3 separate regions of the Homo sapiens genome follow, and all the other regions are linked to region 2. The links are contacts of gene promoters, found by promoter capture Hi-C in human tissues and cell types (Jung and others, 2019). All regions are on one chromosome and are shown on one strand. Each heading gives the region's core, a stretch centred on a gene start or on the middle of the fragment in contact. The rest is flanking DNA. Distances are from core to core; before and after follow the strand shown.

The links. The method cuts DNA at HindIII sites, captures the fragments that hold promoters and counts their contacts. A contact is called where the count stands out against the background at its distance.
Region 1: a contact is called between a fragment that was not itself captured here and the fragment with the promoter of ZNF365 in region 2, in 1 of the 25 tissues and cell types used here (hippocampus).
Region 3: a fragment that was not itself captured here is called in contact with the fragment with the promoter of ZNF365 in region 2 in 2 of the 25 tissues and cell types used here (dorsolateral prefrontal cortex and hippocampus).

The regions. Positions count from the first base shown.
Region 1 is chr10:62,052,602-62,055,634 of GRCh38, forward strand. The region is part of intron 5 of ARID5B (AT-rich interaction domain 5B); the gene reads left to right. Among named protein-coding and RNA genes, the nearest start is that of ARID5B, 150 kb to the left of the region's middle. RefSeq lists an enhancer at 2,084-2,203. The HindIII fragment of the contact is 5,484 bases long and covers 1-3,033 here.
Region 2 is chr10:62,373,064-62,376,107 of GRCh38, forward strand. It overlaps ZNF365 (zinc finger protein 365), which reads left to right and starts at 1,306. Exons shown (of 5, transcript NM_014951.3): 1 at 1,306-1,395. It overlaps LOC283045 (a long non-coding RNA gene), which reads right to left and starts at 2,064. Exons shown (of 4, transcript NR_104162.1): 1 at 1,808-2,064. The HindIII fragment of the contact is 5,251 bases long and covers 1-3,044 here.
Region 3 is chr10:62,072,706-62,075,810 of GRCh38, forward strand. All of the region lies in intron 8 of ARID5B (AT-rich interaction domain 5B), which reads left to right. Among named protein-coding and RNA genes, the nearest start is that of ARID5B, 170 kb to the left of the region's middle. The HindIII fragment of the contact is 3,530 bases long and covers 39-3,105 here.

The sequences.
Region 1 (3,033 bases), core at 497-2,996, 320 kb before region 2:
AAGAGCAGACCTCCAATGTTTCTTTCCATGGAAGGCAGCTCAGAACTCACTGTTGGGTTCACAAAGCCGAGAAGAACAAGAGCCTGCTATACAGATGGGCCATATTTGATGTTCACTGACTTCTTAACAAGAAGGATAGAAGTCAGTCCTGGGTTTTCTAAGTGACGCCTTTACTCCATCCCCGCAACAGTGCTGCCCGTCAGAATCTTTACAAAGAGATGGATCATTCTTCCACCGTTGGTGTTCAATGGTGAACAGATGAATGTCATGCTGCAGTCAGCTCCTAGGGACTGGTCTAATGGCTTGGCTCTTTTCAGAGTCTTGGATTACAGTCATGCCTTGGCTGCTTCCAGTGGGTCTGGCAAGACCACTTAAGCAAAAAGATCAGTAGGTATGAAGTGTGACGAGCTTGTCTGTTGACACCAACAGGCAGATGTAAAATCCCTACAGAATGAACAAGCCACATCTGGGATGAGGACAGTCATTAAAAAGCATGTGTGTCTTAACATGGTCTTTTCTCATGAAACACTGCAGTAGAGATTATGAGTCTGTGACCATCTAATCATCTGTTGAATTGAAAGCAGCATCTTAGAGGACAGTGAGCTGTTTGACTTTGTGACCAAGACCCATGTGACTGTTTCTTTTTAAAAGTGCCTCAAACAGACCATTTCTAACTAAGCACCAACTTCATGCAGCTCCACACAGCAAAGCTCTTAGAGTGGGACCCACTGGGTTTGTTGTGTTCATGACTGGAAAAATAAGTCAAGTGATTTGCCGGTCGCCATCAAAACGTTGCACTCCCTCAATGAGAACATGAAAACCAGCTTTGCAAGACCATGTTTTCCAACGGAGAGAGAATTACATGGCTCCCCAAAGACAGCAAGTGTCACGTGGGGAGGAAACTACCAGTTCTTTGAAGATCTCATGACTGTGTTCAGCCCAAATCCTGCCATTTTTTTCTGGAATAATCTTAAAGCAGTGAACCTGAGGCCCAGGCCTTTCATAGAGTGATCTATAACAGAAATCTTCATGGCATAGGACCCTAATAAAAGGCCTACATTGATAGAAGGCAAATTATTTTTAATATCCCGTATGCATTTTCTGAAGGGCAGAAGTGTATTACAGGTGGTTTATATTCTAAAAGGAACACAAAAAAGGAAACTGTGGTGGGAAGTGTGTTCATTTAAACCATAAACATACTTTCTATATTTCACAAATGTGATACTTTCATTATTTTCAATATTTTTCCTCTCATTTGGTCCTCAGAACTATTCCCAGGGATTATCATTTTTGCTTTACTAAGGTAGAAACTGAGGGTCACCTAGCAAGTTAGCAACCAAACCAAGATTAGAACTCTAGCTTTTTGTATTGCTGGTTCAGCACATCTTACTGCCCCAGTTGAAGGCTGGATTAGTTATAACTCAATCCCGTGGAAGGATGTGGTTAATATCAAATAGGTGGTGGATCATTGAAAACGTTAAATGTTGATTCTTTAATTAGCACCTCCTCAATCATTTTGGAAACCCCAAAGTACTTAGTGAACTCAACAGGTGTATGGTGTTCAGGTCAGGAAAAACAGATCTAGTAATTAACTGTCACCATCAAAAGGCTGGGCTTTCTTAGGTCAACATGAAGACTAGCTCCCATTTCCACTACCACCTGCACTGTAATAATTTAATAGATTGAAATGCTGAGAATGCTTTGGGTAAATGTAAAAACATACAGAAAGGAACTTGATTTAGTCCTACCCAGAATCAGAATAATACCCTAAAGAGCTCATTTATCTTAACTGAAAAAAAAAAATATCAAGCTAGAACAAGAAAAGAAGCTTCTGTTTACTTGTTCACTTCTTACTAAGTACCTGGCCTCCCCAGGAGCAGCATGCTGGCAAGCCCACTGAGATTCAGGACAGAGTTCAGTAGGCAGCAGCCTGGCTTCATTTGGAGCCTTTGCTATGTAGCAGGGAGTCTGGGTTACTTTGGACCTGGTTCATGCACCCCTCTGTGTCTTCTTTCTGTTTCTGAGTGTTTCTACACAGATGAGGAAGAGGGTTAAGCAGCTCTCTACACACCAAGGAGCTCAAACCTTATTCTCCTTTTAACAGTGGTTCTTCTGACCTAATAATATAGGTAGTTGGCCCATTATCACTGCAAATTTAAGACTCAGTCAGTTTTGTACACAAACCTGAGAGATCTACTCCTTTATGTTATAAAATTGGGGTTTGGAGTGGGGCAGACCTGAGTTCTAAACCCAGAGGTCTGCCCCTTCCAAACCATACATGACCTCACTAAGCTCTAGTTTCCTCAACTGTAAAATGTGGCTAAATATCTCCCTTTTACAATTCTCAGGAACATGAAGGTAGAGTATGTGAAGCCCACAGCACTGTATCTAGCTCATTGTAGGTGCTCAATTGAAAACTGATTTCCTTCCCCTTTGCTCAATATACAATAGGAGGAATGGAGCTCCTTGACACATTGGAAACCCCCTAGATTTGTCTTTTGCTTTTCATTTGATAAATCACATTTCTAAGTGGTAGGTTTCGTAATGCCTGGTAATAAGATAGGCTTTTTAATTAGAAGTTTGTTTTCATTACCAATTTAATATTTGTATTAAGAGTGTCAGAAAAGTATAACATTTAAAACCATAAGCCCTAAAGTAAGGCTGCCTGGGCTTAAATTCCAGATTCCCCACTTACTAACTAGGGCATGATCTTGTGATGTTGTACATGCTGCTCATCCTGTCTACCTCCGTTTCCTCATTTCTAATACGAAAATAATAACTACCTCATTCGGGTTTTAAGTTTGAAATAACACATAAACAGCGTTGAGAATGGAGCCTGGCTGCCCAGGAAACACTCAGGAAGGGGTGGGAGGCAATACAAATTAAAACTGGAGTGATGTTATGATTTCAAGAAGCCATTAAATTATAGATTTCATCAGAACTTTAGATCCAACAGCCTAAAATTTGGCAGTGAAAAATGATGACAACATAAAGTTTCACGGGATGTTCGCCTTCATATAATGTTAGAGAGTA
Region 2 (3,044 bases), core at 56-2,555:
TTTATCAGTGTGTGTCCCTGTCAGGCAGGGTTTTTACCTCCATCATCATAGCACATTCGATCCACCGCTATATTAAGAGGTAGGTCTTGATTATCTTCATTTCATAGATGAGGAATTGAAGGAACAGAAAAGTCTAGTTACTTGACCCAGGCCCTAGAACCAGGATTTGAATCAAGTCTGATGCCAGAGCTTGGGATCTTCATTGCATTTGATGTGATAATTCATTTGTGAAAAAACAAAGCAATTCATTTGTTTTCATTTGTCAAAAACAAAACAAAATTTCAACTAAGATAACTGTTGAGCTCTTTACCGTTAAAATAAAATCGGGTGTTGAAATGAGTAACAGCAAGCCTTGAGAAAAGACACCCTGAGAAGTCAAGAGGATGCATTAACTGTCTACAGATGAACAGAATCTCTTCTCTTCTTTGAACAAGAAAACCCAGCAGTAACTTTTATCTAGGTTTCACATTTCAGGAGTTACAGTAGGGGTAAACCAAAACAGGTTAAAAAAAAAAAAAAAAAAAAAAAAAAGCAAAAGCCCAGCAAGCTGAGACATCAGAGTCCTTCAGAAGGAATGATTTGCCGTCTTCTCTTCAGGACATCCCCTCTTTAGGAGGACAAATTTTTTCTCCAGGGAAAGGGGCGTCCGCCTCAGAAATGGGGGTGTAGGTGAGGGATCTTGTTGCTTTAACTGTTTGTTCATTAATCCCTGCACTTTACTAGATTTAGTTCTGCCTGTTAACGTAGCCTCAGGACACTTGGCTAGGAAGGCTGGAGTGTACTCTCTGGGTTAGTTATTTTGGGACATTCTCGCCCTGCTGCTTGGGATGAAGAGGTCCTAATTAAATACCCGGACCTTCCAACGGGTAGATTTTCAAAGAAGATGCCCAGCTATGCTGCATCCTCATCCACACTCTCCCGCTCCCCCCAAACTAGTGCAAAAAAGCTTGCCAGGGCCTGCAGAAAGCGCCGCGACTGCGAGGCTGACACGCGTCTTTCCTTCCCTCCCCCGGGGAATGATCCCAGCATCTCTCGCAGTGATGTCAGTGTAATCCTGAGTCGGATCGGGCTCCCGGCTGGGTGGCGGGGGGGCAGATGATGCTCCCGCCAGCTGGGCAGAGCAAGGGTGTTCCCCGCGGAGGTGGCAGCCCTGGGCCGCGGCGTTCCGGAACCCCCGCACCCACGGCGCGGTGCCCCACGGTGCCCGCGAGCGCCGCCCCCGCTGGCTAGCCGCGCCTCGCTCCGCCCTGGACGCCGCCGGTCCCGGCGCGGAGGTGCGGCGGGGAGTGGGAGCCGGCCCGGCTCAGTCTGATTTACGGCTCTGCTGAAAACCGCTTCGCTCCCGCAGCATCAGCACCGGAGGCGGCGGCTGCAGCAGCAGCAGCAACAAGTCGGGTAAGAGGCGGCCGCCGGCCATCTGCGCCCGCGGCTCGGCGGAGGGGACCTGCCGGGGTGGCCGGGGCTGGGGAGGGGGTCCCCGAGCCCGCAGCATGGCGGGGAGTTGGGAGAGCCGGCTTCCCGGCCCCCACCAGCAGGAACTCATGTGCACACGAATCCACTCTGGCACCCGTGGGCTGGCACGCAGCGGAGAGGGGGCGGGGAGAGCTGGGACCCCGGGGCAGGGTCATTGCCAGCCTGCCCTTCTCTGGCAGAGTCACTTAGGGCTCTTCATCAGCCCAGTGGACTGGGTTTCCTCTGGGCCCATAAAAGCCTGCGTGCTCTGGAGTGTGTGATTACCCATTTCCCCATCCAAAATGCCACCCTTTTCCCATTGCCCCCTTAGAATCCTGACTTCCCCTTTCCTTACCTCTTGTCAGCGTCTTTGGCCCTATGCTGAGCCAGGGTTTGCATCTCGTTCCCAGAAAACCAGTGGTTAAACATCCCGGTGTACCCATCACAGGAAGAGGTTCCCCTCTCTGGGGGCCGGGGGCTTCACCTAGAAGCCTTGCCTGCCTCGCTGCCTGGGGACCATTTGCACCTCTGCTTTTGAAGAGGTTGAGGACACTTTTCACCCAAAGACCCCAGCTGGGCTCCCTCATTTCGGGTCCAATGCTTGTTACATTTAAGTAGAAACCTTTCATGGAGGAATAGAAGATATGCACTGCTTGCAGAATTGGGTTGCCAACAGTCATCTGTTGCTAGGGTGAAGATAATGCATTCCTACAAGGAAACCAGAACTTCCTGTTATTAAGAGAGTATGCTGATACCTACCTGGTTCACACACTGACCATCCCTAGAGGTTGTCATATAAAATAGCATCTGAGACAAGACAAATCCGTCCAGAACACTCTATTATAATAAAAATCTTGGCCATGGCCCCACTTATGCCAAATGGTATTTGACACATTGGGTCCCCAGGTTTCAGTGAAACTCACGTATGGGGTCTGTTATTGTTACGATTAGCACTTTGGTTTATGTCATCACAGCAATACCTGAAGGAAAAAAAGGCAAAAATTTCAGGGTGAAAAATTTTCAGCTGATTGCAGGCTTAATGCCACTGTGCATAGCTTGAGTAATCTTTCCTGTACTTGAGGATAGGTCCTGAGCTTGCTGTCTTAGGACCCATTTTGACAATTCATGTGAGTTTTCATATGTTCTTGTGTTCACGCATCTCGGATTGTATCCTTAAAATGGGGCACGGTTTTGCATTTAGTGTGCCAAATTCAGGAGGGGAGGAAACTTGAATTCCACTTCTGGATCTACCACTTTCCATCTGACCTTGGATTAATGGCTTTACTTCCTTGCTTCAGTGTTCTCTTCTGTGGAGAGGGAATGTTACCCACCTTTTTGATTCTAGGTAGGAGTTGGCAAACTTTTTCTGTAAAGGTAGTAAATATTTTAGCTTTTAGGAGCATAGAGTCTCTGTCTCAGTTACTCACCACTGCCATTGTGGTTTACAATAAATAATACAGAAATTGATACGGCAGCAGTAAATAATGCAGAAATTGATGTGGATGGATTTGGCCCATGGGCTGTAGGTTTTAAGTGCAACATAAAATATTATGTGCAAAAGTCACTTGAAACCAAAAAGCCTCTGCTGTCAT
Region 3 (3,105 bases), core at 554-3,053, 300 kb before region 2:
ACCGCTAACTACCAAAATTTGAAGATCATTGATTTTATTTACAACAGTGCCTCTCTCAATGTTCAATCAATCATTCTCCAAGAGGAATCACCCATAATCCTATGTGTTGTGGTGGGGAGAAAAAGCTAGGATTACCGTTCTAGATGTCTTCCTTTTAATTGGTTCTACCAAAGAAGGGCAGAGGACATGCACATATATCCAAGAAGAGACTGAAGCTCTGGGCTAAAACTTCATGATTATGGTGGATTTCATTCATTCTTGCTAGTCACAGGTTGCATGAACAGATAAAACAGAGATGACTGGATTGGTGAAGGAACACTGTTTTCAAGAAGGGTCAATGAGTTGAGAATGGTCAGGACTTTGTGGGCAAATATCTAGTCTGGAAATGCCCTTGGAATTTTGTAAAGCCTTCCAAACCAAATCAGGATGATGAGAGCTCTTCCTACTAGGCTGCGGGTTCTTCTGTTCTCATTCTTTTCACTCCGATAAAGAGAACTGCTCTTTTTCCTATTTCCCTGCCACCAGCTTTGCTTTCCTAGAAGATGAAGAAGTGAGTGATCTCTATGCATTATCCACTGATTTATTTTTCATGCACTGTGGTTCATGTTTCCAGTAAACGTTTTCATTTTACAACAAGAAAAATGTAGCCAGTTCCTCAGTAAAATGTTACTTGTATATTAGTTGAGCACTTTTGGTTTATTAATGAGTGCAATAATGAAAGTGTGGGTTGTTGAAAAGAATCAATGGGTGTTTTTATTTAAGGCAAAGCAGAAATGGTACAATGCTTGTGAATACATCATTGTCACTGAAGGCCTGACTCGTACAAACTTGCCTCTGATTGGTTTAAATCAAATAGGTCCAAGCACTTCATAAAAATGTCTTTGTCAGCCGGGTTTTGCTTCCAAATCTATTCATCTCTGTCAGTTTTTAATATTAGTACCAGGCTCCTGGCCATAGTCCATTAGTACTGTACTTAATTGCTCATGTTACAGATGATTACCAATATAAAAAGCATTAATGTTTTCCCATCGCAAGGCTGTTGCTATGTAGATGTCTCAAACTCAGCAAAGCTTATGAAATGTGGTTATTCTGGACATTTCTTGCTCAGGATTTATAGATGAAGTTACTGTAGCTTTTGATGCAAAGAAAAATACCCACCTCATTCTTTCTAAGTGGAACATTTTCTTTCTTGTCTAACTCTTTACTTAAAAGTAACCAGTTCACTTTATTTTTATCAGTAAAGGAACAAAAAGGAAAACGACTACTTTTATGGAATTCTCTTAGCTTGATTTTCTGGAATAGTAAATCACTTTAAAGGCTTTGTTTTCACATGCAGATTTCCCTTTTTAAAAAATGTTTTTAAAGTCCATGCAGGGGGAAAAAAATCTTTACTCAGAATGCTAGATTACTGGTTTTAATTTTCCTGAATAAATTACATGGTCTGTTTCTGTGGAGCACATGAAGTTGTTATTAGGGATTTTAAAAGGAGCATTAAAGCAAAAGTACTTTATGATGTGCATTTTTGAGTATTTAGAAAATCAAAATCATAAACAAATGTATTTGTTTGTGAGGGAAATTAGCAACTATTCTTCATCTTCTTGCACACATAATGCCTAATTTCAAATCCAACCTTTTGCTTTTACCATAAGCATTCCTTGGACAAGATTGTCACCCTGCATGGCTGAGGCAGCTTTCTTTGCAGGGACTTAAGGTGAGCTGTACCCAAGCCAGATGTACTTGGGCAGATACTGGGTGATAGCTGGAGCTTCTGCCTTTTTTCTCTGAAGGTATAAGGTAGAGTGTGGGAGGCTTCATGTTTTGAATAAGATAAGCATGTGCTTTAAGTTAAGGACCAAAAATATATCAGGTTCTAAGGAACCCACCTAATCATACCATGGATAAAGGCTGGGGAAGGAAAGGTGAGTTACAGTTCTGTGCACATCAAGGACATGATTCCATGTATTCTTGCTCATTTGGACACCCTTGGAGTTAATAGATACGCAATTCAGAAAGTCACAGGCCACATCTCAGAATTGTATATTTAAGAGGACCCCTAGCAACTCCCTAGACCAGTGCTACTCAAATGAGATTTTCTGACTTGTCCATGAACTGTTTTCTACTAGCCCATAACAAGCTAATAAGCACAGCAATTGCGAATAAGCATTGATACACTTACGCTGAAATTTGCCAGAATAACATTATGTCTGTTGAAGCTAATAAAAACTTGGGGCTTGTGTTTTGTATGCCTCCTTTTGAATTCCATTTTTCTAGTAATTCATTTTTATGGTTGTTTACAAAAGCATCAGTCAGCATCAGATGGGAAATTTAGAAAACTCGTCTTTCACCCAGGTCAGTGGAGAAGGTCCGCTCCTACATCTTGGCCACAAACTCAGATATTTATGGAGGCAGGTAGCAAAGATGAGTGCAGGGGCCACGGCTGGAAAGTGTGAAACTGGCACGCACAGCCCGGGCCAGAGAGCCCAAAGGGACCAGCCCACACTGTTGCTGTAGGTAGATGCCGTCTGTGCGCTTCCTGACCTTCTATGTTTTCAAGATATTTTTTTAATGTGAAATAACCTAACTTACAAACACTGGCTCCAATATTTAAAAAAATATTTTATATAAGCTAAATCAAACATGCCCAGGGGCAAAATATAGCCTACAGGATGCCAAGTTCCACAAAGACTGAAATATGCTTGACACTAGGCTCTCCAGCCTCTGATACAGCGCCCTGCAGTGGGAGGGCCTAGAGGAAGCTTCAGGGTTCCAGGCGCTCTTACTCTGCTCTACACACTCTTCCGTGTGCTGAGCAAAACACCCTCTGTGGCTTCCCATTGACCTTGCCTTGCCTTCGGAGGACGACTCGCCACATGTCTGCTCCCTTTGCTCTGATCAGCGTCCAGGAGCTTGTCAAAGCTCCTCTTTCACTTCAGGTCTTCCTGTTCCATTCAACCAAGCCTCAGAGCGTCAGTAATGGACCTTCACCAGCTCGGCTTGCTCTCATGCAGGCGCCTCCAGTTTGTGTCACTCAGAATACCCAAAGCTACTCCAGATGTGGCATGTAGTATTTCTCAGGATGCGGGCAGTGTCAGTCTATCAACACAG